2 separate regions of the Homo sapiens genome follow, and region 2 is linked to region 1. The links are contacts of gene promoters, found by promoter capture Hi-C in human tissues and cell types (Jung and others, 2019). All regions are on one chromosome and are shown on one strand. The core of a region is centred on a gene start or on the middle of the fragment in contact, and the rest is flanking DNA. Distances in the headings are between cores, read along the strand shown.

Region 1 (6,738 bases), core at 1,305-3,804:
GGTTGCAATGAACCGAGATCATGACATTGCACTCCAACCTGGGTGACAGAGTAAGACCCCGTCTCAAAAAAAAAAAAGATTATTTTGAGGTTTGTGAATAGCTATATAGCTTTTATGACTGGTGGTAAGCCCAGCTCAGCAAGCACCTCAGGAATATCCAAAGGTGCTTGTTGAACTGCTTTGGGGACAAGGCAGGCAACGGCTAGTGGCTATGAAGTCTAGTGAGTTCTAGATTCTTGGCATCTGCATCATCCATTGTAGGGTTTGCAGTGATGTCATCAATGTTAACTTTTAAATTTCATTAATGCATGTACTCTTTTCTGATATTTTGCATATATGCTTCCCCATAAATTGTATATATTTCCTCTCTAAATACACACACACCACATATATTATATTTCTACCTTTTCGTCTATATATGTATTGTGTATATACCTATATATAGATATATACACTGACATCCCTCCACTTATTCTTGAAAGATTTGTTTTCCAGAGAGAGAAGAAAATGGTATAGGCACAGTTTTCTGTAACTGATGTATAACTTTCTGTAACTAATGGTATAGGCACAGTTTTCAATTTGTATGACCTGAAAAATCAGTTCTGGCTGGGTGCGGTGGCTCATGCCTGTAATCCTAGCACTTTGGGAGGCTGAGGCAGGTGGATCACCTGAGGTCAGGAGTTCGAAACCAGCCTGGTCAACATGGTGAAACCCCATCTCTACTAAAAATACAAAAATTAGCTGGGTGTGGTGGCGGGTGCCTGTAATCCCAGCTGTTTGGGAGGCTGAGGCAGGAGAATCACTTGAACCTGGGAGGCAGAGTTTGCAGTGAGTTGAAACTGTGCCATTGCACTCCAGCCTGGGCAACAGGAGCAAAACTCCATCTCAAACAAACAAACAAACAAAAATGTTTGCAAAGCATCTAGGGCAATAATATAGCATCTAGTAAAGCGATCAACTAATGTTCCTCATTTTAATTTATTTTTTATTTTTATTTTTTTTTGAGATAGAGTCTTGCTGTGTTGCACAAGCTGGAGTGCGGTAGAGCAATCTCGGCTCACTGCAACCTCCGCCTCTTGGGTTCAAGCGATTCTCCTACCTCAGCCTCCCAAGTAGCTGGGATTATAGGTGTGCGCCACCACACCCAGCTAATTTTTGTATTTTTAGTAGAGACGGGGTTTAGCCATGTTGGCCAGGCTGGTCTCGAACTCCTGAGCTCAGCTGATCCACCTGCCTCGGCCTCCCACAGTGCTTGGATTACAGGCATGAGCCATCATGCCTGGCCCCTCCTTTTTATTTATTTATTTATTATTATTATTATTATTATTATTATTATTATTATTATTATTATTTTGAGACTGAGTCTTGCTCTGTCACCCAGGCTGGAGTGCAGTGGCACGATCTCAGCTCACTGCAACCTCTGCCTCCCTGGTTCAAGTGATTCTCCTGCCTCAGCCTCCCTAGTAGCTGGAACTACAGGTGCATGCCACCATGCCCGGCTAATTTTTGTATTTTTAGTAGAGACGCGGTTTCACCATATTGGTCAGGCTGGTCTTGAGCTCCTGACCTCGTGATCCACTTGCCTCGGCCTCCCAAAGTGCTGGGATTACAGGCGTGAGCCACTGCGTCCAGCCTTTTTTTTTTTTTTTTTTGAAACAGAGTCTCACTCTGTTGCCCAGGCTGGAGTGCAGTGGCGCAATCTCGGCTCACTGCAAGCTCCGCCTCCCGGGTTCACACCATTCTCCTGCCTCAGCCGCCCAAGTAGCTGGGACTACAGGCGCCCGCCACCATGCCCAGCTAATTTTTTTGTATTTTTAGTAGAGACGGGATTTCACCGTGTTAGCCAGGATGGTCTCGATCTCCTGACCTTGTGATCCGCCCGCCTTGGCCTCCCAAAGTGCTGGGATTACAGGAGTGAGCCACCGCGCCCAGCACCGGCCTCCTTTTTATTTTTTAGCGACAGTTTCTCGCATTGTCCCCAGGCTGGAGTGCTGTGACGAGATCACAGCTCACTGCAGCCTCGACCTCTTGGGCCCAAGCGAACCTCTCACCTCAGCTCCTGAGTAGCTGGGACAAGAGGTGCACGCCACCATGCTCAGTTAATTTTATTTTTTGTAGAGATAGGATCTCACTGTGTTTCCCAGGCTGGTCTCGAACTCCTGGCCTCAAGCGATCCTCCTGCCTCGGCCTCCCAAAATGCTGGCTTGTGAGTGAGCCACCACTTCACGCACGGTCTCCTTTTGAAGTAGAATTAGACAATGTTTTACACCGTGCCAGTGAAAGCAAACTGTACTCTCTACGGCGCTAGTAGCAAAAGCAAAGAATTATTAACATGCCTAATAGGAGCCCTAAAAACTAATCCAGGTCTGCAAAAGCCGATCGACAACTCTGTAGTGATTTAGAAGAGAATTGCAAGACATTAACACAGAGCGTCCTAAGTGACAGGATGGTCTGGCGACCACATTTCCCGGCAGCCCTCGCACAGCCAGGCCGCTTCGAGGATTGGACTTCTCCGCAGGAGGCGGGTGACAGGGGGAGGGGATAAGCGTGAGGTACTGTGGGTAGGAGACGGCCGTCGGCGGAGGCGCCATTTTGTGTAGCCGCCGAACCTTGTTGGAGGTTCTGGGGCGCAGAACCGCTACTGCTGCTTCGGTCTCTCCTTGGGGTAAGTGCGGCGGCTGTCTGTAACGACGGTAGGTTCTTGCCATTTGGGCTGGCCCCCAAGCCTCCCTTGTCAGCTGCCGGAGGCGACTGATCAGCTCCAGCCGGTTCTGTAGAGGGGCTAAATTACCCCAGGCGTTGGAGGGCCGCGCCCTTCCTTGTTGCCAGCTCTGTCAGTTTCCAGAGGGTGTCCAGCCAGCTCAGCCTTGGGCCTGCTTCTTTCTGGCTGTGACTTTGCCCCTTGTGGATACACGTCCCCTAATCTTCAGCCCAACGGAGCAGTGGAGCCGTCGCCTGTCCCTCGGGCACTCCTTGGGAGCTCCCTGGCAGTCTCTGGCCGCCATCCCCCGCTCAACTGCAACTGAATCGCCCTCTCCGAAAAGCTGTTCGGTGATCGCCCATCTGCGGGTTTGGAACCTCTTGGGAGGCGGGAGGGGCATGTGCGGGGAGGGCAGGCCGGACGCTGGAGTCGGTCGAGCAGGCCGTGACGCCGCCATCTCGGCCGCGAGACCCCACGGAGGTGGGTGCCGGCACCGCCCGGGAGACAAGGGGCGGCACCAGTGAATATGCCCCGGGACTTGTTTCCCCCCAGTGGTTCTTTTTCATTTATTAATTTCAACAAATCGTTGAGCATTCGCTCTAGACTAGGCTTCCAGAGACTACTGGAACTGATTTTTCGGACCTCGCGCTCATCGAACGCGGTCCAGCAGTGTGATGTCTTATTACCAACGGGGGGCGGGGGGCCGGGCTGTTCACTACTCAGTGGTTTGTAGTCATAAGAACTGGCTCAAGACGTGGTGGTTATTGTTACCTAGGAATTAGGTCGTTTCTAGCTTTGCTCTTGTCTTATGCGATACGTTATTAATGTAGTAGATTTCAGTCAGCTCAGTATCCCAGCTTCTACGAGGTTTTACATTTTTCATCAGAAGTGTTTGAATTTCATGTTGCTCCTTGTATTAATGAAGACACTTGGATTAATGTTTTAACGGTCAACTATCCCACGGAGTTGCTTTGATACAAAACCAAGGAGCTGATTGTAGCTCTGCCCTTTTTGCTTTGTAATTCTAAGGTAGGAGCAGGGAAGGAGTCTTCTGCTTGCTCCGTATTATGATTCTGTTAAATCTGGAATCTAATATTTTAAAATATGCTTAATCTTCCGGTTTTGCTCATTGTTAACAAAATGTTAGCACGATTTTAACGTTGACAGTTTGTCCCCACCACTTCCCCACCTTAGATAATCACTGTCAATGATTTGAAGGTTTGATGAAATCCCAGCCTCAGTAGTATCCAAGCTATGGAGCTGCTGACTTAAGTGATCTCTGAGATTTATAGCAATTAATCTCTCTTGTCTCCTAGAAAAAATAAAATTTGAACCTTTTGGAGCTGTGTGCTAAATCTTCAGTGGGACAATGGGTTCAGACAAAAGGTAAGTTACTACAGTACGTGGCTTTGATCTCAACATTTCAGTGGGGACTGAACTCCTTGTTTAAAATAGTTTATCAAACTAATATATGAGTGTTTTGCGCCAGGCATTGCTAACGAACACCTTTATGATCCTGTTGTCACAAACTACAGTCTAGTGAGAGAATTAAAGTACTGTGTGAACATGCTGTGATAAAGTGTAGGGTGCTCTTAGAACACATAGGAAGTATGTCTTTTTCTTGTTCACAGCCAGGAAAGCTTCCTGGAGAAAATATTCTCTGGAAGGAAGCTGAAGGATAAGAAAGAATTTTAGGCAAAGAAGGGCAGGGTAGAGTGGGTCACTGAAGGTTCCCTGTGTGGACAGCAACCTTTGCAGAATCCAGGAGATCATACAGTCTGGCACTTAGCACAGTTCCTGGCTGTGGTAAGCAATCAATGAATGCCATTTCTTGTTATTGTTCCCTGAATAGCAAGATGATCCAGACTTAGAGAGCTGAGAAGCTTGGGACTGTGTGTTACATGAAGAAAGAAAGAGCCAAAGAATTAGTGGAAAATTAAGATGAGAGCATTTGGCTATTGTGTCACCTATGGGTACATGCTCTCAGACCATTTGATTTAAACACACACCCTTATTCAGCCATCTGCCTTTTTAGTATTGAGGTCAGTCCCTGTGGTAGATCACATTGACAGGCTGAGGGACCTTAGGAGATGTTCATGTCACATGGTATTTTAATGCTGTGTCAGCAGTCTGTGGTTCTAAATAGCTTACTAAATTAACATTTACCCCTTTGGGGTGTCTCAGTCCCATATTTCCTTTGATTCTTTTTATTAAATTTGTATATTCTAAATGAAGCCCTTATAAACCTTTCCTTTGCCTTATGATTGCACAGCAGTTTTATGAATCTGGTAAACAGTTTACAAAAGGTGTATTTTATCTGTGGTCAAATAGGTTTAAGCCTCTTGTTATTAGGTTTTCCCATGAAGCCCAGTGCTGCCCTTTAGCCAAAAATAAACCAGATGTTATAAGAAGAGTGTTCTCTTAAGGGGTGCTAGTTTTGGGTAACTATCCAGTTGTATCTGACAGACAACTAAGTTGCCTGATGGGGAAAAAAAAGACTAACTTAGTTCATCCAGGTTTTTGGTCCATTTTCCAGTAGGCATGATACCCTTGAGAGTAGATGAGCCAGGGATGTACTTAATTTCACCCTTTAAAATTGGGTGAAATTCGAGTAACTGCTTTCTTCCTGTTTTTGGTCACTAAGATCTGAATCAGGGATGAAGGGATAATATGTAGACTCTAGGCTTGACAAAATGCAAAAATAAACTTGGACAACATGACTCTTTCTTAGAAATATTCAACCCAAATGTTTATTTCAGATTTAGCATACATTCCTGAGAATTATCATTACATTTAGGGATGTAGGTATTTTCCCAGTGGTTATCTTAGTAAACTGGAATTTGGTAATACTTTTTAACACTTTAAACTATTTGGATTATCTTATAAACTGATCTGTGGGCCGTGTGTATTTTTAACTATGTCTTTTAAAGGTACAAAATGTGACTGACTTTAGAATGAAAATTATTTTCCCTGGCAGAGTGAGTAGAACAGAGCGTAGTGGAAGATACGGTTCCATCATAGACAGGGATGACCGTGATGAGCGTGAATCCCGAAGCAGGCGGAGGGACTCAGATTACAAAAGATCTAGTGATGATCGGAGGGGTGATAGATATGATGACTACCGAGACTATGACAGTCCAGAGGTGAGTGACCAGCGGCTGTATAACCCCCCAAAACACTCTGAGCCTTATAGTAATAGAAATAACAGCCAGGCAGCCAGGTCCAGTGGCCCCTTCCCATAATCCTATCACTTTGGGAGGCCAAGGCGGCCAGATCACTTGAGGTCAGGAGTTTAAGACCAGTCTGGCCAACATAGTAAAACCCGTCTCTACTAAAAATACAAAAATTAGCTGAGTGGGGTGGTGGGCGCCTGTAATCCCAGCTACTTGGGAGACTGAGGTAAGAGAATCACTTGAAACCTGGGAGGCGGAGGTTGCAGTGAGCTGAGATTGTATCAGTGCTCTCCAGCATGGGTGACAAAGCAAGACTCCATCTCAAAAAAAAAAAAAAAAGAAAAGAAATAATGGCCAGGGTTTACATAGGGATCACCATGTACTTTTGAGCACTTGACTTCATGAATTCATTTAGGTCTCAGTACAACCTGATAAGGTAGGTGTTATTCCCATTTTAAAGATGAAACAATGGGGTTATGATAACATATTAGTTCTGTGTTTTGAAATGAATGATAAATATAAGTTGTTGGCCAGGCACAGTGGCTCACACCTGTAATCCCAACAATTTGGGAGGCCGAGGCAGGAGGATCCCTTGAGCCCAGGAGTTAGAGGCCAGCCTGGGCACCATAGGGAGACCCTGTCTTTAAAATAATAATAATGAAAAATAATAAATATAAGTTGTTGTTTTGGTCATCTTGATATATCTTTTTTTTTTTTTTTTTTTTTTTTTTTTGAGACAGCTTTTTAGTCTTGTCACCCAGGCTGGAGTGCAGTGGTGCGACCTCAGCTACTCAGGAGGCTGAGGTACGAGAATTGCTTGAGCCTGGGAGGCAGTGGTTGCAGTGAGCTGAGATCATGCCATTG
Region 2 (6,738 bases), core at 2,894-5,393, 320 kb before region 1:
ATCAGTGAGGCTTCCAGTCAACAGTAGGCTACTAATAATTAAGCTCTGAGGGAGTCAAAAGTTATATGCAGGTTTTTTGACTGTGTGGGGAGTTGACACCCCAACCCCCACACTGTACAAGAGTCAACTATATACATTCAAGAATCCCAATGAAGTCCAGGTGTGGTGGCTCATGCCTGTAATCCCAGCACTTTGGGAGGCCAAGGCAAGCAGATCACTTGAGGTCGGGAGTTCAAGACCAGCCTGGCCAACATGGCACAATCCCATGTCTACTACAAATACAAAAATTAGCCTGGCGTGGTAGTGCACACCTGTAATCCCAGCCACTAGGAAGGCTGAGGCATGAGAATCACTTGAGCCTGGGAGGCGGAGGTTGCAGTGAGCAACCTGCACCACTGCACTATAGCCTGGGTGACAGAGTGAAACTCTGTCTTGAAAAAAAAAAAAAAGAATCCCAATGAACCCAAATAGGATAAACTCAAAGAGACCCATATGAGACACATTATAAAACAAAAACGTGTTATGAAACTATTGAAACCAAAAGACAAGAATGAATATTTAAAGCAGCAAGAGAAAACTGATGCCTCAAGTACAAAAGATCCTAAACGAGATTAACAGCAGATTTCTCCTCAGAAACCTCCAAAAGGCAGTAGGATAACATATATAAGTCCTAAAGGAAAATACTGTCAACCAAGAATTCTACATCTGAAAATACTATCCAAGAATGAAAGAGAAATTAAGACATTTCCAGATAAAGACTAAGGGAGTTGCTAACTACTAGACCAGATCTACAAGAAATGCTAAAGGGAGTCCTTCAGGCTAAAATGAAGGGACACCAGACAGTAGCTAAAAAGAAAAAGAAAAAATATAGAACACTGGTAAGGGTAACTACATAAGTAAACATAAAAGCCACTGTAGGCAGGGCGTGGTGGCTCACGCCTGTAATCCCAGCACTTTGGGAGGCCGCGGCAGGCAGATCATGAGGTCAGGAGATGGAGACCATCCTGGCCAACATGGTCAAACTCTGTTTCTACTTAAAAAAAAAAAAAAAAAAAAAATTAGCAGGGCATGGTGGCACGTGCCTGTAATCCCAGCTACTTGGGAGGCTGAAGCAGAAGAATCACTTGAACATGGGAATCAGAGGTTGCAGGGAGCTGAGATCGCCACTGCACTCCAGCCTGGCAACAGAGCGAGACTCGTCTTAAAAAAAAAAAAAAAAAAAGGGCCGCTGTCACTGTACCTTTGGTTTATCATTTATCTCTTTTTCATATACCACTTAATAGTCAACTGATACATAAACTATGTAAAAATCTACATTACCCAGGCACTGTGGCTCACACCTGTAATCCCAGCACTTTGGAAGGCTAGGGCAGGTGGGTCACTTGAGACCAGGAGTTCAAGACCAGACTGGGCAACACAGCGAAACCCCATATCTAAAAAAAAAACACACAAAGCCAGGCGCGGTGGCTCACGCCTGTAATCCCAATACTTTGTGAGGCCGAAGCGGGCAGATGACGAGGTCAGGAGATCAAGACCATCCTGGCTAACATGGTGAAAGCCCGTCTCTACTAAAAATACAAAAAATTAGCCAGGTGTGGTGGCGGGCGCCTGTAGTCCCAGCTACTTGGAAGGCTGAGGCAGGAGAATGGTGTCAATCCGGGAGGCGGAGCTTGCCGTGAGCCGAGATTGCACCACTGCACTCCAGCTTGGGCTTCAGAGCAAGACTCCATCTCAAAAAAACAAAAACAAAAACAAAAACAAAAAGCACAAAAATTCGCTGGGTGTGGTGGCAGATGCCTGTAGTCCCAGCATCTCGGGAGTCTGGCTGAGGTGGGAGAATCACTTGAGCCCAAGAGATCAAGTCTGCAGTGAGCCAAGATCGCGCCACTGCACTCCAGCCTGGGTGACAAGAGCGAAACTCTGTCTAAAAAAAAAGAAACGCCAGGCGCTGTGGCTCACAACTGTAATCCCAGCACTTTGGGAGGCCAAGGCAGGTGGCTCACTTGAGGTCAGGAGTTCGAGACCAGCCTGGCCAACCTGGTGAAACTCTGTCTCTACTAAAAATTAAAACATCAGTTGGGTGTGGTGGTGGGCACCTGTAATCCCAGCTACTCAGGAGGCTGAGGCAGGAGAATCACTTGAACCCGGGACGCAGAGGTTGCAGTGAGCCAAGATCGTGCCATTGCACTCCAGCCTGGGTGACAGAACGAGACCTCATCTTAAAAAAAAAAAAGAAAGAAATCAGCCAGGTACAGTGGCTCACACCTGTAATCCCAGCACTTTGGGAGGCTGAGGCGAGCAGATCACTAGGTCAGGAGTTTGAGACCAGCCTGACCAACATGGCAAAACCCCGTCTCTACTAAAAATACAAAAATTAGCGGGCATGGTGGTGGGCATCTGTAATCCCAGCTACTCGGAAGGCTAAGGCAGGAGAATCACTTGAACCCTGGAGGCAGAGGTTGCAGCGAGCGTGCCACTGCACTCCAGCCGGGGTGACAAGAGCAAGACTCCGTCTCAAAAAAAAAAAAAAAAAAAAAAAAAAAAAGAAAGAAATCCAAGGGCCTGAAATCCTACAGTTTTGGGAAGCCATGGCAGGAGGATTGCTTAAGCTCAGTTTGAGACCAGCCTGGGCAACTTAACAAGATCCCATCTCCACAAAATTTTTTTTTTTATTTTTAAAAAATCAGCTGAGTTGCACTGGCTCATACCAGTAGTCTCGGCTACTTGGAAGGCTGAGGCAGGCAGGCAGTCACTCAAGCCCAGGAGTTTGAGGCTGCAGTGAGCTACATTCATATCACTCATTCCAGCCTGGGTGACAGGATGAGACCCTATCTCTTAAAAAATAATAATAATTGGCCAGGCGCGGTGGCTCACGCCTGTAATCCCAACACTTTGGGAGGCCGAGGTGGGCAGATCACCTGAGGTCAGGGGTTCAAGACAAGCCTGGCTAACATGGTGAAACCCCATCTCTACTAAAAATACAAAAAAGTAGCCAGTTGTGGTGGCACGTGCCTGTAATCCCAGGTACTCGGGGGGCTAAAACAGGAGAATCACTTGAACCGGGAGGCGGAAACTGTGGTGAGCAGAGATCACGCCACTGCACTCCAGGCTAGGTGACAGAGTGAGACTCCATCTCAAAAAATAATAATAATAATAACAACAACTTAAAAAAATAAAATTAGTCTGGGTACAGTGGCTCATACCTGTAATCTCAACACTTTGGGAGGCTGATGCAGGTGGATCACTTAAGCCCAAGAGTTTGAGACCACCCTGAGCAATATAGTGAGATCCCATCTCTATTCTAAAAAACCGATTAATTAATTTAAAAAGAGTGAAAACATCACCCACAGAATAGCAGAAAATATCTGCAGATCATACATCTGATAAAGGATTAATACATGGAACATATAAAGTACTTGTATAACTCGACAACAACAAAAATAACCCAATTCATAAATGGGCAAAGGCCTTAGACATTTCTCTGAAGATTTACAAATGGCCAAAAAATATGCAAAAAGATGCTCAACTTCATTAGTCATTAGGGAAATGCAAATCAAAGCCACAATGAGAAACTACTTCACATCCAAGTTATAAAAAAAAAAAAAAAATAGAAAATAAGTGTTGGCAAGGATATGAAGAAATTGTAACACTTGTGCACTGCTGGTGAGAATGTAAAGAAGACAGTATGGCAATTCCTCAAAAAGTTAAACATAGAATTACCATATGATTCAACAATTCCACTTTTAGGTCTATACCCAAAAGAACTGAAAGGAGGAATCCAAAACAGATATTTATACACCAATGTTCACAGCATTATTCACAATAACCAAATGGTGTCTACGACCCATGTCCATCAACAGATAAATGGATAAAGATATGCGGTATATACATACAGTGAAATATTATTCAGCCTTAAAAAGGAATGAAATTCTGATGCATGTCACAACATGGATGAATCTTGAAAACATTTTGCTAAGTGAAATAAGCCAGGCACAAAAGGGAAAAAATTATATAATTATAATTCCACTTACATAAAATAAAACAGGGCTGGGCACAGTTGCTTAAGCCTGTAATTCCAGCATTTTGGGAGGCTGAGGCAGGTGGATCACTTGAGGTCAGGAGTTCGAGATCAACCTGGCCAACATGGTGAAACCCCATCTTTACCAAAAATACAAAAATTAGCCGGCCGTGGTGGCGGGCACCTGTAATCCCAGCTACTTGAGAGGCTGAGGCAGGAGAATCACTTAAACCTGGGAGGCGGAGGCTGCAGTGAGCCAAGACTGGGCCACTGCACTCCAGCCTCGGTGACAGAGTGAGACTGAGTCTCAAAAATAAAATAAAATAAAATAGGCGAATTCATTGAGACAAAAAGATTATTAAGAACGTACAAGGGGCTGGGGGAGGTGAGAATGGGGTGTTACTATATAATGGGGAGAGTTCCTATTTGGGATGATGAAAGTAGTTCTCAAAACATCATTGTGAATGTATTTAATGCCACTGCATCATACCCTTCAAAATAGTTAAAATTCTACATTTTCTCATGTATATTTACTACAATTTAAAAATTTCATTTACAATAGCATCAAAAAAATCAAATGTCTTGGGTCAAATTTAACAAAACGTGAAAGAATTCTACATTAAAAACAATGAAATAATGTAGCAAGATAGTAAAGAAGGCATAAATCAAGAAATATGCCTCACACAGCACATGGATTAGAAGGCTCAATATAGTTAAGATGTCAATTCTCCCCAAATGAATCTATAAATTCAGTGGAATCTCAACCATAATGGCAGGAGACTTTTTTACAGAAATTGACAAGCTAATTCTAAAATTTATATGGTAATAAAAAGAAACTGTAATATTCAAATAAATCTTGATAAACAATAAAGTTGGGTTATTTACACTGCCTCATGTCAAGACTTCCTATAAAGCTACAGTAGTGGGGTACTGGCATATGGATAAACAAATAGATCAATGGAACAGAACACAGATTTCACAAACAGGCCCATATCTACAGAGTCAATTGTTTTTGGGATTTTTGCCAGCGACAAATCAGGATATAACAGTCAATTGTTTTTCGACAAAAGTACCAAAGCAAACCAATGGGGAGAGAAAATTTTGGTAGTTTTAAACTATGTCAAATTTTTTTACATTCTTCCCTCTAAAAAGTGAAATCCTCCTCTCTCCTTGAGTACAGGCTAGACTTAGGGACTCATTCTAATGAAAAGAATATGGCAGAAGTGACAGTGTATGACTAGGTCATAAGAGGCTTCATGGTTTCTTCCTTACTTTGTCTTAGATCATTTCTGTAGGAGATAACTGCACGCCATGAGGAAACTCAAAGAGCCCTGTGTATAACTTGTTAGCTTTAAAGTAGGGAAAATTTAAAAACAAACAAACAAAAGCCCTGGGTAGAGATAAACAATATGGAACTGAGGCTTCCTGCAAAGAGCTTTATGAATAAGTCATCTTGAAAACAGATCCTCTAAGCCAAGCATGGTGGCTCAGGCCTATAATCCCAACACTTTGGGAGGCCAACAGGGAAAGATCACTTGAGCCCAGGAGTTCAAAACCAGCCTGGGCAACATCTCTACAAAACATAGAAAAAACTAGCCCTGCATGGTGGTGCATGCCTGTAGTTCCAGCTTGAGAGGCTGAGTTGGGAGGATCACTCAAGCCCAGGAGGCCAGGGCTGCAGTAAGCTGTGATCACCACTTCACTCTAGCCTGGGCCACTTCTGAATTCCTAGCCCTCAGAAACTGAGGTAATAACTGTTTGCTGTTTTAAACTGCTAAGTTTTGGAATAATTTGTTACAGAGCAATAGATAATACACAAGTCTTTTCAACAAATGTTGCTAGTAATGGAACAATCAGTTATCTATGTGGGGGAAAAAGAAACACCAGCCCCAATCTCACACAATAACAAAAATTAACTTAGGATGACTCAGAGACCAAAATGTAAAAGCTAAAACTAGAAAGCTTGTAGGTGAAAACACAAAAAATAAAGTTAGGCTGGGCATGGTGGCTCATACCTATAATACCAGCACTTTGGGAGGCCAAGGTGTGCAGAGCTCACCTGTAGTCTTAGCTACGCGGGAGGCTGAAGTGGGAGAATGGCTTGAGCCCAGGAAGTGGAGGGTGTAGTGAGCGGAGATCATGCCACTGCACTCCAGCCTGGGTGACAGAACCAGACCCTGTCTCAAAAAAAATAAAGTTATATGATTTACACTACCTGACTTCAAGCCTTGCTAGAAATGTCCAACACTTAAGAGGTAGGCAAGGTGTCCTCAGACACTCAGACAGAACACAGAAAGCAATAACCATAACAGAAATTATTGATAAATCGGACTTCATCAAAATTGAAAACCTCTGATTATTTATTTATGAGATGGAGTCTTGATCACACCCGTATTCCTAGCATCTTGTGAGGCCCAGGCAAGAGGAATGCTTGAGGTCAGGAGTTCAGGATCAGCCTGGGCAAATATGCTGAGACCTCCGTTGCTACAAAAAATTTTTAAAAAGAAAATAAGCTGGGCATGGTAGTATGCACATGTAGTCCTAGCTACTAGGGAGGCTGAGGCAGGAGGGTCGTTTAAGCCCAGGAGTTAGAGGGTACACTAAGTTATGATCACGCTACTACACTCCAGCCTGGGCAACAGAGCAAGACCCTGTCTCTAAAAAAACAAAACAAAAAACAAAAAATATAGTATCCAGAATACAAAAAAACTTCCTAAAAC

What was found. The method cuts DNA at HindIII sites, captures the fragments that hold promoters and counts their contacts. A contact is called where the count stands out against the background at its distance.
Region 2: a fragment that was not itself captured here is called in contact with the fragment with the promoter of RBM5 in region 1 in 2 of the 25 tissues and cell types used here (pancreas and spleen).

Annotation. Positions count from the first base shown.
Region 1 is chr3:50,086,365-50,093,102 of GRCh38, forward strand. It overlaps RBM5 (RNA binding motif protein 5), which reads left to right and starts at 2,555. Exons shown (of 25, transcript NM_005778.4): 1 at 2,555-2,665; 2 at 4,018-4,087; 3 at 5,679-5,844. The coding sequence starts at 4,071. RefSeq lists enhancers at 2,412-3,003, 2,523-2,692, 2,733-2,842, 3,004-3,594. The HindIII fragment of the contact is 21,518 bases long and covers 1-6,738 here.
Region 2 is chr3:49,764,443-49,771,180 of GRCh38, forward strand. The region is part of intron 1 of IP6K1 (inositol hexakisphosphate kinase 1); the gene reads right to left. Among named protein-coding and RNA genes, the nearest start is that of IP6K1, 19 kb to the right of the region's middle. The HindIII fragment of the contact is 9,567 bases long and covers 1-6,738 here.